3 separate regions of the Homo sapiens genome follow, and all the other regions are linked to region 3. Evidence: promoter capture Hi-C in 16 types of primary human blood cells and fetal thymus (Javierre and others, 2016). All regions are on one chromosome and are shown on one strand. The core of a region is centred on a gene start or on the middle of the fragment in contact, and the rest is flanking DNA. Distances in the headings are between cores, read along the strand shown. Region 1 overlaps IQCE (IQ motif containing E). Region 2 holds the start of LOC107986759 (a long non-coding RNA gene). Region 3 holds the start of TTYH3 (tweety family member 3).

Region 1 (2,722 bases), core at 132-2,631, 65 kb after region 3:
GAGTGTTTCTGATTTGGGAATATTTGCATCCATATAATGAGGTATCTTGGGGATGGGACCCAAGTCTAAACACAAAATTCATTTATGTTTCATATATACATTATACCCATAGTGCAATGGTAATTTTATATTGTGTTTTTAATAACTTTGTGCATGAAACAAAGCTTGTGTGAAGTACTTAAGGGTGGAATTTCCCACTTGTGGCCTCATGAGGGTGCTCAAAAAGTTTCCATTTTTGGAGCATTTTGGATTTTGCATTAGAGACACACAACCCGTCGTGCCGTGGCCTGGGGAAGATGCTGCCATGCTTCCAACCTTAACTTCCTCATCACCTTGCACTAGACCGAGCAGATAAGGCTACCGCGGCCAGGTCTCCTCACTTCCCCTCCAGCAGAAACATTGAGCCCCAAGTTCTGCGCGGGGGGAATTTTCCCTGGGGCTTGGTTTGGATCCCTCCTCCTCCGGGGAACATCAGAGGAGCATCCCCTGCCCTCTGTGACATGGAGGGAAAATCCTTAACTTTGCGAACAGAGGTCCCTGGAGGGAGACAGTGGAGCTGAGGCTCCCCCTTGAGTCCACAGAGCAAACGTGGAATTGAGATCTGCTGGTGCCGGGTTCGTTCTGCTGGCTGCAGGTTTGCTAGATCTGCGTCTCCAGTAAGAAAAGCTTTTTTCGCTCATACACGAGAAGAGCAATTGGCACACTTCCTTTTCTACCCAGCACAGCTTGCCAAACAAACCCAAAGCCCAGTCCGGGGCCATAGTGTGCCACTGGGCCATCGGACACCACTCCTGCCCCTCTCCTTTCCGGGCTGGGAGGCCAGGCAGCAGTTCAGCTTGGGATGGCGGCTGCCCAGGTCTGCTTTCTCCCATCGGGTCCTTCCGACGGCATTAGCAGGGGCTCTCCTCCTCCCCTCAAGTGTCAGGATGAGGGCGTGGGGTGCAGGGCAAAACCAGCTGCAGGCCAGGGACTAGCAATCTGTCTCACATGAGCCCTGCTCAGGATTCACGTCCAGATAAAAGTTTTAAAGTTATCACCACAGGTATTTAAACCTAAGGGCTGGAAACTTTTCAAACACCAAGGAGCATTCGGAATATGCATTCCAGCTCTCGACACAGTATTGTGGAGAACGGCCTATTTTACGCTTCCGAGTGCAGTCTGCAAGGGCAGCGCAACCAGCCCGAGGTCGCACGGCTGACACCCAGCGGCACTCACCGTCTCCACATCAGAGTCAAAGGTGACTGCAGACAGACTGTCATCTCCCTGGAGGAAGAGAGGCAAACACTGTAACTCGACGGCACCTGCTGGGCTTCCGACCATCACGTTTACAAAAGCGAAAACAGCCCGTCCACAGCTGCTGAAACAGAAACTCCAGAAATCCAGCTCTGAGGCCACTCAGAACACTCCAGCTGGGCAGCAGCCAGTTCCTCAGTCTCATCAGAAGGAATGGGTGGGTGGGGGGAACAAAACACAAAACGCCGCCCAGCAGGCGTGCAAATGTCTGCAAATCTAGTAACACTATTTCCCACAGAATTGTGTCTTGACAAAGAAAAACAAAACCAGTTCTTGCTGAAAGCATTTCATTTTTACATAAATGTTCTCACTCTTATTCATCTTTACATCAAAGCACAACGAATCTGTGACTGTCTCCTGGTAAGAACGGGTGAGAGTCATCTTTTAAAAAGCAAACTCGGCCTGGGCAACATGGTGAGACACTGTCTCTACAAAAAAAATCTTAAAAATTTAAAAAATAAGCCAGGCTGTGGTTGCACACACCTGTAGTCCCAGCTACTCGGGAGGCTAAGGTGGGAGGATCGCTTGAGCCTAGGAGGTCGAGGCTGCAGTGAGTCATAATCATGCCACTGCACTCCAGCCTGGGCAACAGAGCAAGACCCCAGCTGGGAAAAAAAAAAAAAAAAAAAACGAAAACCAACAAAAACCAAAACATATGCATTACAATGAGAAGGCATTTGGGCCTATAAAGGTTCTTGCCTTCTTATTCCAGTGACTTTGTCCTGGTCCAGGGAATGAAATAAGACTTGTACTGTCTGATTTCAGCACGAGGATGGCCAAAAAAAAAAAAAAAGGAAGCTTTTTGAAGACAAAAGTGTTTCTGTATTAACTCATTCACTCAAATTGAAATCCAAAAAGAGAAGCATAAAATGTTTAAAGTCCCTCGGAAGATCATATTGGTGCTTTCCAATGCGGACACTGGAAGTTAGAGCTGAATGCCCCATTATGAGCCAATAGTTCTACAGCTTGGGGTGGAGGTGATGACATTTGTGCTACCTGTCCCTGGTATAGCTGAGTCCACGCAGTATCATAATGGGATGCTACTGCGTTCTGAAAAGCAAACTTATTTTCTACAAGGCTAATAGTACATGAAGTGCCAATTTTGCTAGCAGTGTGAAACTGTATTAGAAATGCCTGGCTGCATGATAACATGGATAAGGTGCAACTAGACAGGCCAGGACACAAGTGCAATGTGACTGCATTTCGAGGGGCAAAGGAAAGACGGTGCATTCCAAATAAATGGAGCGTTTAAAAAAATCAGCCATTGACTGAAATTTTTTATATCATTTTTTATATCACCTATTTAAGGTGACCTTTTAAGACATAAACAGCATATGACAATTATAGAGAGAAGTTTTCCTTTTAGCAAAGTGTATTGAAATTATGCACAAAATTGAGGAAGGGCAGGCCGGGAACTGGACACACAGGT
Region 2 (2,700 bases), core at 80-2,579, 120 kb after region 3:
CGTCTCCAGACCTCGGCCTTCCTGCATCTCAGTTCCATGCCCACTGCTTGTCCTGAGCTGGAGCTGGGTGGGAGCTGGCTCTGAGGGCTGTCCCCATATCTTAGAGATGGGGCTCGGCTCTGCCACCCTCCCTTGGCTCCCCACTGCCCAGTTGGGAGGGCTGGCTCTGCCCCTGGCGTCCTCAGGCCACCCCCTGGCCCACTCTGCCTGCCGAACCCCCCAGGCCCTGCCAGGCCCAGGATCCCCACACTCCAGCCGCCCCTCTGTGTCTGCCTGGAGTGCTCAGCGTCTCCACCCCTGTGGGAAGTCTCCTCGCTGCTCCCTCCTCCACTCTACCTGTTGTCTGTTCCTGGGTCCCGTCCAGCCCTCAGCACAGCCCGGCACCCACAGAGTACTCAGTCCAGATGCCGACGCAATGGAGCTGAGCTTCCTGGACTTGGCTCTTGCCAGAAGACTTGGAAGAAGGGACCTTGAAGAGCATCTAGGTCCAAGTCCCATTTCACAGATGGGAAGATGGAGGCCCCAGAAGGCCTCCCAGGCCCACATGGCCAGCAGCAGGTGTCTCCAGCCACCCTTGAAAGTGAACCCCTCAGGCTCACACCTCCGGGTGCCTCCCATATGCCAGGAAGTCCCAAAGTTCTGAGGCGCTGAGGCTCCAAGACTTCCCCTGGGCGGGGTCTTTGGTGGTGCCAGGGGGTGAAGGTGAACCTTCAGGCATGGCGGTCTTTTGGCCAGGCCTGCTTCTCCCTGCAACCCCTCGGAAAGCCCTGCCAGGCTGGGAAACTGAGCAAAAGCTGGACATGCCCAGGCCAAGGGGTGGGCAGCTGGCTGGCCTGCCTCAGCAGGGTGGGGCCTGGGGACCAGTCCAGGCCTGTCCCCAACAACCTGGCCTATGGCGTCTCTCTGGGTGGAGAGTCCCCTGTCCTGGCTGTGTCTCCAGCCTCAGGTGGGGTCCTAGCTGTTTCTTTCTGGTCTCAGCTGCGCCCCCCACTCCAGCCTCCACCCCACTCCCTGCAAACCGGCAGTCACTTGAGCCCTCCTCGGGGCTCTGAGCCCCCCTCGGGCAGATCTTCAGGCCTGGGGCATCCCCAGAGGCTGGGCTGTGCCCAGTGGTGGCCGCCCCTCCCTCCTGTCTCATCCCCACCTGCCATGGCTGTCACTCTATCTCAGCGACCCAGTTTTCCTCCTTGTCTCTGTTGGTGGGGCGGGCGGCCCTGGGGGGACAGTGTCCCCCTTTGTGGCGGGGCGACCGGTGGATCAGGTGTCTCTGGTGGGGCCGGCAGGCGCGTCTGCTGGCTCGGGCCAGGGGCCACGGCTTTCAGGTCTTCAATAGCTCAAGATTAGGTTCCGTCCCTGAGGGCCCCTGTTGTGTGGCCATTGTGATGGCCTGGGAAGCACAGCCTCCGGGGCCAGAGAGTGATGCGTCTCCCTACTCACGGGAGCCCTGGCCTGGGGGCTGGGGTCCCGGCCTCCTCCGGGCCGTTTGGGCACCCTGCAAGTCATGTAGAAGTGTGCACATACAGCCACAGCCAGCACAGGGTCTTGGGGAAGTGTGGACCCCGCCTGCCAGATGCTCCGCTTACTGCCTGGGCCACTGCTTGGAAAGAGGTACTGCTTCTTCACAACCCGATGAGCGGAGCACGGGCTGGATCTCAGATGTGTGCTGCCAGTCAGTGCACGACCTGCACGGATGTGCACAGCGGCCCTGACACTGCCCCGGCCCCTCCCACCTTTCTCGAGAGTTTCTTCAGCTTCGCCACTCCCCTCAGCTGCATCCTCCCACAGGCCCCCACTCAGATTGCAGGGCTGGTCCTCAGCCGCTGGCTGGCAGCTGACAAAACCACAGGCCAATCCCCGCTGGCAGGATGGGGACAGGCTGACAATTCCAGGTCCTAACTGCACGGTCTTGCATTTCCTTCTCTGAAGACTCAGGTGTGGAATGAGCGGGGCTGTGGGTGCAGCGTGGGCGAGACTCCTCTCAGCCTCCCTGGGCCTGATCAAGGTCACCGACCCCCAGCTGTAGTCCCCAAGACTGGCTCCTGATGGCTTTTGTGCCCCGCTCAGCAAAAGCCCAGCTGGGATCCTCTTGGTGGCCCAGACAGAGGTGACCACATAGTATATCGTCTTTCAAGGCTGGGAGGGAACTCTGTTAGTAATTACTCCTGGGGCATACCAGGGCTGTGGCAGGAAACGGAGTATGTCACCGACAGAGACGCAGATTCCCTGGCAGGATGCATGCCGGCCGGCACATGCCTCGGAGCGCGAGAGGGGCCTGTGATCGTGCGGTGCTTACGTGCTTCACGCGTGTGTGCGGAAGCACGGGTGAGCCCGTGGGGAGCATGGCGCGCTGCCACTCTGCACATGTGGGCTGGCCATGTGCAGGGACACGTGTGTCCCTGTGTGCACACACCCAGAGCCCGACCCGGCTGCCCCGAGATGGCTCCCTCCCCTTGTACAGCTGGAGACTCCGGAAGGAGGAGGCGGGTCGGGCTGGCCTCCTGCTTGATGGGGGTAAGACGAACAGGCCAAGGTGGGAGGCCAGGGCCAGGCCTCGCTCGGGCTGGGGCATGGCCCTAACACATGTTTTCTGCCCAGCGTAGTGGCGGCAACCTTGGACAGGAGGTTGGGCCCCATCAGGAAGGTTTTGCTTCAAGAAGTGGGGTCAGCTTCCCCAGTGTTTGCATTCATCCTAACATGTGA
Region 3 (2,700 bases), core at 114-2,613:
CACAGACAACGCAGTTCTGAAGAGTCCAGGTGCTAGGCTGCCCGCGGAATACCGGATTCCCAAGCCATTTTGATAAGCAAAGCCATCCCCACCCCACCATGGGGCTCTGCCATGATCCGTCCAGAGAGAAACTCCGGGTGACCAGGGACCCTGGTCACGGGGCTTCTGGAATCCGGATCTCTAGGCAGGAAGGAAATGCCCACAGCTTGGTCCCCTGCCCCGCACTCAAATGACAGTAGCTTGGCGATGGGGGTGGTGCTGGGGCCTGGCATGATGCCAGGCTAAGGGCTCCCCTGGGAGAGGGCTGCAAAGGGCCCCCAGCCGCCCCCCAGGTCTGCCTGGGCTCAGCCGCTTCCAGCCTCCCTGCCTGAGGCCCACGGTGCTTCCTGGCCGCCGGGCCTCCCTCCCCCGGGGGCTACAGGCAGCCTGGTCTCCCACGGCCACACACGGCACCCTGTGTACATCCCACAGCCTGACCGCCAAGCAGGGGGTCATTACCGGCCACAGAGGGCTGGCGGCGGCCCAGGCCATTCACCCACTGGAAGCCTGGCAGTGGGATTCCCCAGTCGGGGGTGAGTGGGCGAGGAGTCTCTGCCTGCCTGCACCCAATGTGCTCAGGCACCCGCTCTGATCTCAGAGCCTGGGGGTCATCTGGGGAGGGGTCTCTGCTGGGACACAGCACCAGGCCGCCAACAGTGATGGTGGAGAGGCCCTCCACTGGCCAAGGGGGCTCACGGAGTGGGGAGAGGCAGCTCCATGAAACCCAGGGGCCTTAGTGACACCAGAAGGGAAGGCCAGAATCGGGAGGGGGGCCGTGGACCCTCACTGGGGGTTGGAGGGTATTTAGACCTTTGAGGAGGAGGCCATGACCCTGGAAGAAAGGGTCCTAGGACTCAGAAGGGACCCTCGAGAAGGAAGGAGGCCGGTACCTGCGAGGAGGAGGTGGCCGTGACCCTGGAGGGGGGGATGAGGGGTCTTTAGGCCCTCGGGGATGGGGGCCGTGACCCTGGGAGAGGAGGGGGCCGTGACCTGGGGTCCCTGACCCCGCGACCCCGAGAGGCCCATGTCACCTGCTGGTAGTCGGTGTCCTCGGGCCGGAACTGGCTGCTAGTGGCCTCCCAGCTCAGGTCGAAGTGGGGCAGCCGGTGCAGGAGGCTCACCCACCAGGGCGCCGCGTAGCTGACCCCGGCCATGGCGGGGCCCGGCCGCCTCCGGATGCGCGCGGCCTGCGCGGGGCTCCCTTGCTGGCCCGGGGCGCGGGCTTCAGGGACCCGTCGACCCCCGCCTGGCCGCCCGCATCATCCGCGCGCTCCTGGGCCCGGCCCGGCCCGGCTCGGCCCGGCTCGGCTGCGCTCGGCTCCGCTCGGCCGCCCGCGCCCGCCGCCTCTTTGTTCGCCGCCGCCGCCGCCGCCCCCTCCGCACCCCCGCCCGTCCGCCCGCCGGCCCCGCCCCCGAGCCTCCATTGGCCCGCCTCCCGCCAGCCCAGCCCCCGCGCGCCCCGCCCTCTGTCCCGCCTCTTACCCACCATTGGTCTATCCCCCGCCGATCCCGCCCCACAGCGTGCCCCGCCCACTCGCTCCTGAACCTCTATTGGTCCTTTTACCTGATGGTTTTGCCCCTCCACTCGCATCCCCGCCCATTACCCAATGGCCCCGCCCCTCCACGTGTCCCCGCCCTTCGGCCCCGCCTCTGTACCGTCATTAGTCCGCCGGCAGAAGCTCCGCCTACTTCCTCGCCTTCTTGGAGGGACGCCTGGCCCCTAAGGCGCTGGAAGACCGACCCTCAGCGCTGTAAGACCCGGGCCAGCCAGTCTTTCCACGTGGCCGTGGGGGCTGGAACCCTGGCTGCATATGCAGCTGCGCTTCATTCCATGAATTCGCTCTTCGTTTGGATCTTTGCATGTTTCTTATTTGACTCGAGGGTCCGGCCTGGTGGGCTGGGCTGGTCTTGGCCTCCCCATTGCACACACAACAGCCCACAGCCCGCAGCGCCCAGCAAGGCACCGAGTGGCCTATCTGTACAATGGACATGATCTGGATTCAGGGCCTGGCTGGGGCACCTAGAGCTGTGTGATCTGGGGCAAGTTACTTAACCACTCTGTGCATCGGTGTCCTTGTCTGTAAAAGGGGATGATAAAGCTACGAGTGTTGGCAGGGCGTGGTGGTGGTTCATGCCTGTAATCCCAGCACTTTGGGAGGCCGAGGCAGGCGGATCACCTGAGGTCAGGAGTTCGAGACCAGCCTGGCCAAAATGGTGAAACCCCGTCTCTACTAAAAATACAAAAATTAGCCAGGCGTGGTGGCGGGCGCCTGTAATCCCAGTTACTCTGGAAGCTGAGGGAGGAGAATTGCTTGGACCTGCGAGATGGAGGTTGCGGTGAGTGGAGATTGCGCCACTGCACTCCAACCTGGGCAACAGAGTGAGACTCCATCTCAAAAATAAAAAAAATTTTTTTTAAAAAGGTACGAGTGTTAAGTGGATCCGCAGGTAGATTCAGTCCCCATCCGGCCTTCCCTCTGGGGAAGGTTGAGTCTTTTGTCAAGACCTAAGATGAAGACGGTGCCCTGTTCTGGTGTCCTGGGGCCTAAAAATTCAGGCACCTGCCAGAGAGGGCCCATCATGGGCTTTGGAGCCACACAGCCAAATTTCCTAACAGGGCCTCCCCATGCCTGTGCCTCCTCCTTTGCTAAAGGGGAGATG

Evidence for each region. The method cuts DNA at HindIII sites, captures the fragments that hold promoters and counts their contacts. A CHiCAGO score of 5 or more calls a contact.
Region 1: a contact is called between a fragment that was not itself captured here and the fragment with the promoter of TTYH3 in region 3, in 4 of 17 cell types (monocytes, M1 macrophages, M0 macrophages and 1 more). The highest score is 9.5, in monocytes.
Region 2: a fragment that was not itself captured here is called in contact with the fragment with the promoter of TTYH3 in region 3 in 4 of 17 cell types (neutrophils, monocytes, M0 macrophages and 1 more); the score reaches 9.8 in neutrophils.

Annotation. Positions count from the first base shown.
Region 1 is chr7:2,565,657-2,568,378 of GRCh38, reverse strand. It overlaps IQCE (IQ motif containing E), which reads right to left. Exons shown (of 22, transcript NM_152558.5): 2 at 1,216-1,263. Among named protein-coding and RNA genes, the nearest start is that of IQCE, 8.0 kb to the right of the region's middle. RefSeq lists enhancers at 332-933, 948-1,117, 1,318-1,367, 934-1,536, 1,648-1,827. The HindIII fragment of the contact is 1,425 bases long and covers 669-2,093 here.
Region 2 is chr7:2,508,134-2,510,833 of GRCh38, reverse strand. It overlaps LOC107986759 (a long non-coding RNA gene), which reads left to right and starts at 1,763. Exons shown (of 3, transcript XR_001745066.2): 1 at 1,763-2,104. RefSeq lists a silencer at 2,545-2,698 and enhancers at 2,344-2,700, 2,218-2,700. The HindIII fragment of the contact is 4,512 bases long and covers 1-2,700 here.
Region 3 is chr7:2,630,649-2,633,348 of GRCh38, reverse strand. It overlaps TTYH3 (tweety family member 3), which reads right to left and starts at 1,363. Exons shown (of 14, transcript NM_025250.3): 1 at 1,071-1,363. The coding sequence starts at 1,193. RefSeq lists enhancers at 1-474, 1,207-1,938 and a silencer at 1,013-1,422. The HindIII fragment of the contact is 11,109 bases long and covers 1-2,700 here.